2 separate regions of the Homo sapiens genome follow, and region 1 is linked to region 2. The links are contacts of gene promoters, found by promoter capture Hi-C in blood cells and fetal thymus (Javierre and others, 2016). All regions are on one chromosome and are shown on one strand. The core of a region is centred on a gene start or on the middle of the fragment in contact, and the rest is flanking DNA. Distances in the headings are between cores, read along the strand shown. Region 1 overlaps EZH2 (enhancer of zeste 2 polycomb repressive complex 2 subunit). Region 2 holds the start of C7orf33 (chromosome 7 open reading frame 33).

Region 1 (5,765 bases), core at 3,001-5,500, 260 kb before region 2:
TTTTTTTTTTTGAGATGGAGTCTTGCTCTGTCGCCTAGGCTGGAGTGCAGTGACGTGTTCTCAGCTCACTGCAACCTCCGCCTCCTAGGTTCAAGCGATTCTCCTGCCTCAGCCTCCTGAGTAGCTGGGATTACAGGCGTGCATCACCACGCCCGGATAATTTTTGTATTTTTAGTAGAGACGGGGTTTCACCATGTTGGGCAGGCTGGTCTTGAACTCTTGACCTCATGATCCACCTGCCTCGGTCTCCCAAAGTGCTGGGATTACAGGCGGGAGCCACAGCGCCCACCTGATAGCCACTACTTTTTTAATGCTGATATAGTGCTTACCATCTGTCAGGCACTGTCTATGCACCGTAAATAAATTTACTTCTCACAATGACTCTGAGGTGGAGGCTCTTGAATTAGCCTTTTTTCATGAGGAGAGTGAGGCACAAAGATGTGCAGTAACTTGGCCAACTTCACACCCAGCTGCTAAGTGGGAGAACTTGGATCTGAACCCAGGGAATGAGCTTTGGAGTCCAAACTCTTGCTTTTTGTTTAATGCTGTGTATAGGACTTAGAATTAATACAACTAACTCTTCTCTTATTAGTTTAGTTTATTACTTGGAATTTGGTGTGAAATAGAGAGTGCTGCTACCCCAATTCTTTGCCCCATGTGTGTAACAGGCATTATTAATCATGACAGCACTCTCTCTGCTGAGCTAGAACATGGCCTGGCCTAAGGCCAATAATCCTTATGGACACAACCCTCAAAGTGGTTGTATGAGATGAACTCTCCTTGCCATCTCTGATCTTGTCTGTTTTGAATCCTGATTCTAGTGCCCAGTGCATGGCACTGCGTGCCTGCTTCTCCTGGATTCCTCTCTCATGGTCTTCCTTTTTACAGGGACAGGTTTTCTATATTCCCCCTCAGGCATAGGATCTGTTTCTCTTAAGTAATTAATTTTTATCACTTACCAATAATTTAACATCTATATGTCTAAGTTCTCTTTATATTGTTTTTCTTATCCTTACCTACAAAATCTCATTTACCATTGATTTAAATTTCAGTATATTGAAACAATGGATTGTAACATTAAAAATAAATGAAATTGCCAAATGATACTAACAGCTGCCTTCAAAGCATTTAAACATACAAACAGGCACTATTGAAGACTGGAGAGTTATCAAAATTGGCAATTTTTTGGCAGTCTTGCTGTGAAGTAAACATTTTTAAAAGGAAGGACATTGAGAATATTGTAATCATATTACTTACATCTTGTTGGGTTTGGATTTGACCTTACATAGCCTGGTATTCAGTTAAGAGTCAAAGTTGCTGCTATTAATTTAGTTGAGAAGGATAAATAGTACATGTAGTTTATTGTTTTCTTTAGAGAAATAGAAACAGAAACATTTATTTGGCCAGACCAAATAGGTGGTCATTCCCTTGATTTAGCAAATCCTTGAGGTAGAATTTTTTTTTTTTTTTTTTGAGACGGAGTCTCACTGTGTCGCCCAGGCTGGAATGCAGTGGCACGATCTCGGCTCACTGCAAGCTCTGCCTCCCGGGTTCACGCCATTCTCCTGCCTCAGCATCCCGAGTAGCTGGGACTACAGGTGCCCGCCACCACGCCTGGCTAATTTTTTGTATTTTTAGTAGAGACGGGGTTTCACTGTGTTAGTCTCGATCTCCTGACCTCATGATCTGCCCATCTTGGCCTCCCAAAGTGCTGGGATTATTGGCGTGAGCCACCGCGCCTCCCGGTAGAATTTTTAAAGAAGCAATAAGGGCTCTGACAATACCTATGGGACTTTTTTCAAATTATTCAGTTATTGGCAGCTGGGTAAAGAGGGACAGGAATGTCTGATTTAGGTAAATACCTCTCACAAGTGGAGTAGGGGCGTATCTGGTAGAGAACAGTGCTGATTCCTTGGACTTGTGTGGCCTGGCCACCTGAGAGGTAGGTAGGAAGGTGTGTCTTGGCCATGTCCTGGGGCCTCTGTAAACCTGAGAGGATGGAGGAAGCTCTACTTTTTCTGACGATGCTGTTGGTGATAATGAAGTAGGCTATGAGAGCCCATCTTCCATTAATTCAGATGTTCCTATACAGTTGGCCCTCTGTAAATGGGATTCTACATTTGTAGATTCAGCCAACTGTGGGTAAAAATACTTGAAAAGAAACAAAAGTGTGTGTACTGAACATGTACATACTTTTTTCTTGCCATTATTCCCTAAACATAATAGTTTAACAACTATTTATGTAATATTTACATTGTATTAGGTATTTAGTAATCTAGAGATGGTTTTAAAGCAGGGGTCCCTAGTCCCCAGGCCGTGGACTGGTACCCGTCTGTGGCCCGTTAGGAACTGGGCTGTACAGCAGGAGGTGAGCTCCGCCTCCTGTCAGATTGGCAGCAGCATTAGATTCTCACGGAAGCGTGAACCCTATTGTAAGCTGCACACGTGAGGGATCTAGGTTGCACACTCCTTAAAAGAATCTTTTTTTTTTGGAGACGGAGTCTCGTCTCACTGTGTTGCCTAGGCTGGAGTGCAGTGGCATGATCCTGGCTCACCTCAACCTCTGCCTCCCAGGTTCAAGTGATTCTCCTGCCTCAGCTTCCTGAGTAGCTGGGATTACAGGCACCTGCCTCCACACCCAGCTAATTTTTGTATTTTTAGTAGAAACAGGGTTTTACCATGTTGGCCAGACTGGTCTCGAATTCCTGACCTCAAGTGATCTGCCTGCCTTGGCCTCCCAAAGTGCTGGGATATGAGCCACCATGCCTGGCCATCCTTATGAGAATCTAACTAATGCCTGATGATCTGAGGTGGAACAGTTTCATCCTGAAACCATGTACCCTCTCCCCTCTTTGTGGAAAAACTGTCTTCCACAAAACCAGTCCCTGGTGCAAAAAAGTTGGAGACTGCTGGTTTAAAGTATATGGGAGAATGTGTATACGTTATGTAATAGTGTACCATTTTATATCAGGGACTTGAGTCTTCGTGGATTTTGGTATCTGTTGGGGGTCCTGGAACTAATCCTCCGTGGATATGGAGGAACAACTGTATATATGGTCTCAGTAATAAATACGTATCTGAGATACCCTCTGTATTAAGAAAAAAAAGATGGGAATTTCTTGGCTCATATAACTGAATAGTTCCGAAATTTGGGAAGGTCTGCCTGACTTAGGGCTTAGGTCATGAGACTACAGTTCTTTCTTGGCTTTGACTTTTGTTTTTTGTAGTTGTTGACTCTGTTCTTTGAGGCTCTTCTCCAAGATGGCTTCCAACAAGTCCTTGGGCAAACATTTTTCCAGGTTTAGACCTAAGGGGAGAAGAGTGAGCATTCTTGTCCTAGCATTGCAGGAAACCTGAGATTTTCACTGTGACTGCACTGATTGTGGCCGTGTATCTAACCCTGTACTGGTCACTATGTCTAGGGAGATGTACCTTGGTCAGGCCAGGGTCACAAGCAGCTTGAGTCAGCTTCCTCCAGTGTACTTGGTAGTTCTCAGAGAAGAGTTGGTGTGAAGTTCCCAAGAGAAGGGTGAATTGACCCTGGGTGGCAAAAACAACATAGCATCTACTCTAGTGGGATAAAGTAAGATGGTAAGGCATGGTGTTCAGGGTATTTCTGAGTTTGGTTTGATTCACAAAATAGATTGTGAACACTGTAATTGCCCTTAATTTTAGTTAACCTATGTAAATGTAAATCTGTGAGGTGTCACTACATTCTGCTAAAGCTTTGATGGGCTCCTGCCATATTCTGGTTTGGCTTTTGTATTAAAGAGCCATTGTTGTTTTGGTTTCACTGTATACAGGTAGACTTTTGTTTTAATGAATAGAGGTATAATCTGTTTTGAACAGGAAAAGCTGCTTTTGTATTCTGGATAAAGTTCATACTAGTGGGATTTCACCTATGAAACTAAACAAATCTTTGAAAAATTTAAAAACCATATGTATTTACACAGTGTCCATTCAGTAGAAGTCGTTTAAATAAAGGCTTCTGCCAATATATGAATATTTAGAGCTGTATTTTATTATTTTACTTTTTTTGAGACAGGGTCTCGCTCTGTCACCTAGGCTGGAGTGCAGTGGTGTGAAGACAGTTCACTGCAGTCTCCACCTCACAGGCTCAAGAGATCCTCCCACCTCAGCTTCCTGAGTAGTTGGGACCACAGGTGTGCGCCACTACACCTGGCTTGCTTGCTTGCTTATTTATTGATTTGAGATGGGAGTCTCACTATATTGCCTAGGCTGGTCTTGAACTCCTGGGCTCAATCCTCCAACCTTGGCCTCCCAAAATGCTGGGTTTACAGGCTTGAACCACTGTACGTGGCCTTGAATCTGTGTTTTAATACTATGCTTACTTGGCTGTGGTGTTGTGAAAAGATCACTGAAAATGGAGTCAGAGGCCTGATTTGAGCCAGTCGTTTGTTGTGGGGGAAGGAGGTCAGGGGAGCTAACATCTAAAGGCTCACTATATGCCAGGCACAGAACCAAGTGTGTTTGCATGTATATTTCGTTTTTGTTGCCAGACTTTGAGGTAGGTTTTATGGATAAGGTCTTTAAGGCAATATCAGCTTCCTTTTAAAAAAGAAATTCCGGAAACTGAGTTTTAGGCTGAAGATCTCTAACTGGTAGTAGGGACAACTGAACCACAGGGTCCTAACTGACCCTGCGATTTATCTCCTTTTGCGGGGGGTTTCTTGATAATAGGGTGCACTTTACCTCATTTTTTGGCTCAAGCATGGATAGGCCACCCTTCCTTTTCATACCTATAGCTAAGCTTTACAAATGATATGCTGATAAGATACAAGCTACTCGTTATTCATGTGGGTTAATAGACCTGTTTGTTTGCTTGTTTTTAAGTCTATAGCCGCCCCACCCCCAATCTACAATTTCACCTTCTAAGGTTTTAGTTACTCATTCAAACTGCAGTCTGAAAATGTTACGATATTTTGAGAGAGAGAAGACTCTAGCTACGTAACTTTTGTAACAATATATTGTTATAATTGTTCATTTTACCATTAGTTATTGCTGTCAGTCTCTTACTGTGCCTTATTTATAAATTAAACTTCATGGGTATGTACGTATAGGAAAAAACATGGTATATTTAGAGTTTAGTACTATCTGCAGCTTTAGGCATCCGCTGTGGGGTTGGCGGGGGGCGGTCTTGGGAGATAAGTGGGGACTACTGTACAATTATCAGGCACACACAGGCTCTGGGATTTTACAAATGAGTAAAAGTGGTTCTTGCTGTTGAAGCACTTACAGTGGGAATAGAGTGAAATACATGAAAATGTGATTTTAATATGTTATAAATGCTATGATGGTGGGAGTTTGTTTTGTGTAAAACATCCTTTTAATTGGTACTTTAAATTTTAATATTCTTTCACAGGTCTACCTATTTAGTCTTACACTTTCAAAGAACTACCTGGATGCTGTAGATTTTCATGATATACTTTATTAGGTATGTTATTAATGGTAGAAACAGCATGGAAAGTCTTCCAGAATATTAGACAAGGACAGTTCTAGTACTAAAACATAAAATGCTAACTAATGTCTTCATCAAGACATAAAATATGTATCTTAAAAAATAAATTGTAAGCCAGGCGCAGTGGCTCACACCTGTAATCCCAGCACTTTGGGAGGCTGAGGCGGGTGGATCACAAGGTCAGGAGATTGAGACCATCCTGGCTAACACGGTGAAACCCTGTCTCTACTAAAAATACAAAAAATTAGCCTGGCGTGGTGGCGGGCACCGGTAGTCCCACCTACTT
Region 2 (5,901 bases), core at 1,533-4,032:
CACACCTGTAATCCCAGCACTTTGGGAGGCTGAGGCAAGCAGATGATTTGAGGTCAGGAGTTCGAGACCAGCCTGGCCAACATGGTGAAACCTCGACTCTACTAAAAATACAAAAAAATTAGCTGGGAGTGGTGGCAGGTGCCTGTAATTCCCGCTACTTGGGAGGCTAAGGCAGGAGAATTACTTGAATCCAGGAGGCGGATGTTGCAGTGAGCCAAGATTGAGCCATTGCACTCCAGCCTGGGTAACAAGAGCAAGACTCCATCTCAAAATGAATAACAAAAATAAAGAAATTCAGAACATTCTGAGCTTTGGAAAAATAATACGTAACTCATAGTGCCATCCATAGACAACCACTTTGAGACTTTGCTGTATCTTCCAGTGATCTAATTAGATTTAAATCGTGTCGGCCAGGCATGTTGGCTCATGCCTGTAATCCCAGGACTTTGGGAGGTGAGGTGGGTGGATCACTTGAGGTCAGCAGTTTAAGACCAGCCTGGTGAACATGATGAAACCCTGTATCTACTAAAAATACAAAAATTAGTAGGATGTGGTGGTGGGTGCCTGTAATCCCAGCTACTGGGGAGGGTGAGGCAGGAGAATCATTAGAACTCAGGAGGTGGACGTTGTAGTGAGCTGAGATCGTGCCATTGCACTTCAGCCTGGGTGACAAGAGTGAAACTCCATCTCAAAAAAACAATAATAAAAAAAAGATTTAAATCATATCTACCCTGCTGGGGCACAGTGGCTTCCACGTGAAATCCCAGCACTTTGGGAGGTTGAGGCAGGCAGGTCACCTGAGATCAGGAGTTTGAGACCAGCCTGGCCAACATGGTGAAACCCTGTCTCTACTAAAAATACAAAAATTAGCTGGGCATGGTGGCGTGCACCTGTAATCCCAGCTACTTGGGAGGCTGAGACAGGAGAATCGCTTGAACCCAGGAGGCAGAGGTTGTAGTGAGCCAAGATCACGCCACTGTACTCCAGCCTGGGCGACAGAGCTAGACTCCATCTCAAAAAAAAAAAAAAAATCCTATCTACCCTATATGCTCCACCCATGCACTTGTGGCATCCTTTAAAAGGAAGGTTTAGGCAGTGATAATCTTTTCTCACCTTCTTTTAAGCACATATACGTCATTGATTATCATTTATATTCATCATTCAGAGACTAATTGTATTGGTTCACATCAAAGTACCCCTGGCTGAGGAGGTATTTTCTTCTTTTTACTCTTCTTATGCTAAATGGGCTTTCCCTGACATGGGCTGTCTGCATCTGACCTTAGCAGCAGGCAGACACAACCCCCTTGCTGACCCTGCAGTTCATGCTGCTGTTCTCAGGGAAAGGTCATGAAATCCTCTCTGCCCTCGAATGACCAGAGTCATTCTTCATATCAGAAGATACTCTGAGCCTGTGGCATGTGTCAGTTTGGGGCACTGTGCCACAATGAGGGTGTGGGCAAATGGGAAGAAGCCAGGAACTGCAACATGGGAGAAAACAAATTAGGGCTGGAGAACTAGGTGGGGACACCTGTGGTTCCCATCAAACTGAACACCCAAAGCTGGAGATAAATACAAAGTGGGAGCTCATACTTTAACCAAAAATGCCTGCCTAGTGGGAGGCAGGGGCTTGGGGATCAGGAGGTGTCAAAGATCAAAGACAGGCAAAGAGTTAAGGATCCAGGTCTTGCTGGGCATGGGTGGCACTTCGGGATGTTGAAGTGGGAGGATCGTTTGAGGACAGGAGTTCAAGACCAGCCTGGGCAACATGGCAAGACCCCATTTCTACAAAAAATAAAAAAATTAGCTAAGCCTGATGGCACATGGCTGTAGTCCTAGCCACCCGGGAGGCTCCTCTGGGAGGATCACTTGAAGCCAGGAGGTTGATGCTGCAGTGAGCTATGATTGTGACACTGCACTCCAGCCTGGGTGACAGAGCAAGATACTATCTCTAAAACAACAACAACAACTCCTGGTCTTTAAAGCGAGAGAAGAGACAAGAATCTAGGCAAGGAGAAGGGAACAGGTGCAAAGCTTGTGCCAAAGGGTGACCAAGATAGAGGCTTCCTGTGGACCCATCTCCAGGGCAAAACATAGTCTGAGAACAAGCGCATTCCTTCTACCACACTGTGTGAAAATATACAATTTTTACGCTGGAATTTTTCAAATCAACATGACTCAGGCTAAACACAAGAATACTCAGTGGAGTGTTTTGTGAGGATTCTTTTCCCTAAGAAGATTCCAGGCCTTCTTTGGGGCAGTGAATTAATCTCTGTCTCTCTCTTTACTTCAATGTCGTTAAGCCCAGTTCCATAACACATAGTAGAGAGTCAAAAACATTCATGGATTGAGTGAATGAATTCTCAAGAGATACTGACTGACTCAAAGAGCAGTTGATTCATCTTAGAATCATTAACTTACCTTATGTCTTCCCGTGGCATATGACAAGTTAAATTGACCTGGACCGCCCCTAACGTGGACCCAAACAGCGACTGCCCTCCCACTCAGGCGAAGGTCAATCCGGCGCCTTGCCCCACTGGGCAGGAGGGCTTCACATTCACATTGGGGGCCTGGAAGTCTCCAGGGACACTCTTCAAGGCTGAGGCTTTGAACTTCCACTTGCATTTTGGCAAAGGTAATTACCTTTCCTGGATGCTGTCAAGGAGAGCGGCGCTTCACCACCAATATCTAAGATCAAGTCGCACGGATCCCCAGGGTCAGTAGGAGGATTCAGACACAGGCTGGGCGCCTCGCTCCTGACCACTGGATTGGCATCACCATAAGTAAGGTCACAGCTGAGTAGAAAATGCCTGAGGCAAAGTGGGGGTGAAAGAGGGGCCACCGAGCAGTGTGATAGGCAGCCCCTTCCGCCAGCTCATTATCCCCACCTGCTCCTGTCGTCTCCTATTAGAATCCTAATGCGAGTTTACGGAAAGTCAGCTGGAGCTTGTCCTCCATGTAATTCAGATCACGTTGCCTGCAGCTCTTAGGTACTCAAATAAACAGAAGGACTAATATTACTACTGAAAAAGTAATTAAGGGCATTCATTGTAAAGTAATAATGATTACCTCACCCTCACCATATGGCCAGAACTGATTAACACCTAGAAGAAATGATCTAAAACCTCTACAATCAGAATTAATGTCTCAGGTCATAATGAGAAACATTTTGTAGCGGGGTTTGGCAGGGAAGGATGAAAAAGTGGTTGGGAGTTTACTAAATCAAGAGGCACAAACAAAATATTGAGGATAACATCCTTTTTCAGGATTTTTCATCTCATTCAGATTAGACAAGTTGCATTTTTAGTGTAGAACCCATATCACAAATGCAAAAAATATTACAAGATTTACACATTGGAATTGTCACTTAATTGGATGAGTTTTTCCTCCATTGTTTCTTTTATAATGATGAGGAATTGATGGAAGAATCTCCATCGAGGCTGGCAGTTTCTTAAATCACCAGGGAAGGGCTTAGCCCACTGATTGAAAATCTTCTTATCGTAAATTACTGGTTAAAATGCTATTTGTTGTCAGGAGTATCATGGAGTGTGATTTAATCTCTTAAGATTAGTTAAAGTGGTAGAAATGTTAGCATTTCTGGGTAATGCCAAACAGGTTAGCATTACAAAAGATGCCTAGAAAGATACGGACCCATTTGGAAGACAAGGTTGCTGTAAAAGCCAGTTTGCAGGTGCACCGTGGGGGGTGACAGGATGCCCTGGGCTGTTCTTGATTAGTGCGTGTGCCCTAGGGTCATGTGGTGAAGCATAAGGAAGCAGAATTTGGGATATTTTTCCCACCAGAATCCCTAAGATTACTCTGTGTACTGCTGGGGAAAAGCTTAATGGGCTCAACACCACCCTTGAGGGAAGGCAATAATGGAATCTCTTTTTTCTGCAAATACTTCCTTGGGTGGTGCATCATGATTCCCTGAGGCAGGATTTCCTGCAGCAGAGCTGGAGGGGCTGGAGGGGCTGGTGGGGCTGGTGGGGCTGGTGGGGCTGGAGGGGCCAGAGGGGCTGGTGGGGCTGGTGAGTCTAGAGGTGCTGGAGTTCCAAGAACTTGGCCTGGAATCTTGAACCTGCAGCCATACATTCGGACTCTAGCTTTGCCTTTTTACTTATCTGTCTTTGACCACTAAAGAAATAGACAGACCTCATAATATTATTTCCTCGACTGCCTCTTAAAAGTCAAAACCTTAAGTTAAGGACACCTCACATTTTGGTCAAGACCAGTGGACCTAGGTAAGAGTAAATCAGAGAATTCCCAAGGTGGAAGAAGTTATTCCTAGACAACGAATGAATCCCCTGGATTTGGGTTGCGGAGTGAGGTGACCAGCTGGTCACCCTGGGGGTGGACTGAGCCAAATGCCTAAGCCTCATTGTTGTTTTAATAACCCAAGTTGGATTCAGGGAGTACCTGTGCAATTCTGTGATTAGCACATCGGGCAGTGAGATTTCCGCACGTTGTAGCTGAGAGGCCGGCTGCTGAGACGACCCCTTAGGGAAAAGTGGAAAACTCTGCCTCCAGAATGGAGATCTGGCTTTCTCTTCCCCTGCTCAACCTGAGCTCAGGGATTCTGTGCCCCTCGCTCTCCGGACAGTTTTTACACCAGATTATCTTCTAATTGCTGTGAATGCAGCCGCATCAGCAAGTCCCCATCTGGGGACATTATCAATTTCAAACCTTGGTCAGTCATGAAGCCCCATTGAAGGACTTCATCCTGAAATCCACGAACAAAGAACGAGATCCCGCAATGCTGTCATCTAAAATGCCTGAAAATGCCAGTGCTGCGACAGATGGCCCTGCTCGGTGTAAGTGACAATGCCCCCAGCAGGCCATTGATTCTGTTTGTGAAATTTAAATATCTGAACAATGACTGATGGTGCTAGGGAGAAGTGTACCTTCAATCCCCCCGACTCCCACCCCCGCCAGGGTTCAGCATATCTCAGTAGTCCTAGTAAAAATAGGTCAGTAAACAGCCTTATTTATGGTGAATGCTTGGGGTCCCTAGGTCATTGAGCCACGAACACTCGTGGAACTGAGGTGTGGCTGGGGATGGGGTTGGAAATAACTCGTTAAGCAGAAAACAGTGTATTCCACATGCACAGAATACAGAAGGAACTGAGTTGGCAGCGATCAAGACAGTTCATGGGAGGAACTCAGAGGAAAATCAATGCTTTCTCTGTGAGAAAGTTTTGAACACTTTTCCCTTTAAGAAAAGTGAAAACTGTCGTTTAATTTTAAGGAACGTGATCATTATAAAAACCTGGACTCTTTCAAATTACAAAGTTTTGTTTATGAAAGCAAGAGTTTGAAATGTCCCTTTAAGATAGAATGAGGAAAACCAGGATTATATTAAGCCTTGTTTATCAACAGCTCATAACAATGTGTGTTTCTGCATGCTTTTCCCTTACTCTGAAATAGGTTTTACTTTGCTTAAATTAGTAATTAGTAAATATTAATGCTTTATTGGTTTAATAATACATGTATTAAAAGCAGTTTATTTTCACAGAAAAAGCCTAATTATTTGGTATTGTATGCTACAAAAGAGAAATGCCATAATTCCCAGTGGGGGCTGTGGATACTGGACCCCCATAACCAGGTGCCAGAGATCACGTGGTGTTCAAAGTCCAAATTATAAGCATAGTGCCGAGGACTCTGAGGATGACTTCTGCACATCTTCCGAAAAGGGATGGAACAGCAGAATGAGTGCCATCATGGCTTGGATGGTTGGAGGTGCTTTGGGCATGAAGACCCTCTAACTGTGAAGTTAGAGGCTTCCAATGTTAGCTCTGTTTTAAGTATATGCACAAAGTCACAGTCTCATAGCTGAGCTATTAAAAATAAAATCAACACCAAGATATACTTGAGAATGACTTTTTTATCACTCGAAACACTTCC

The links. The method cuts DNA at HindIII sites, captures the fragments that hold promoters and counts their contacts. A CHiCAGO score of 5 or more calls a contact.
Region 1: a contact is called between a fragment that was not itself captured here and the fragment with the promoter of C7orf33 in region 2, in 10 of 17 cell types (activated CD4 T cells, naive CD4 T cells, non-activated CD4 T cells and 7 more). The highest score is 13.1, in activated CD4 T cells.

What each region holds. Positions count from the first base shown.
Region 1 is chr7:148,850,144-148,855,908 of GRCh38, reverse strand. The region is part of intron 1 of EZH2 (enhancer of zeste 2 polycomb repressive complex 2 subunit); the gene reads left to right. Among named protein-coding and RNA genes, the nearest start is that of EZH2, 31 kb to the left of the region's middle. The HindIII fragment of the contact is 1,046 bases long and covers 3,728-4,773 here.
Region 2 is chr7:148,587,647-148,593,547 of GRCh38, reverse strand. It overlaps C7orf33 (chromosome 7 open reading frame 33), which reads right to left and starts at 2,782. Exons shown (of 3, transcript NM_145304.4): 1 at 2,419-2,782. The coding sequence starts at 2,622. The HindIII fragment of the contact is 1,806 bases long and covers 2,034-3,839 here.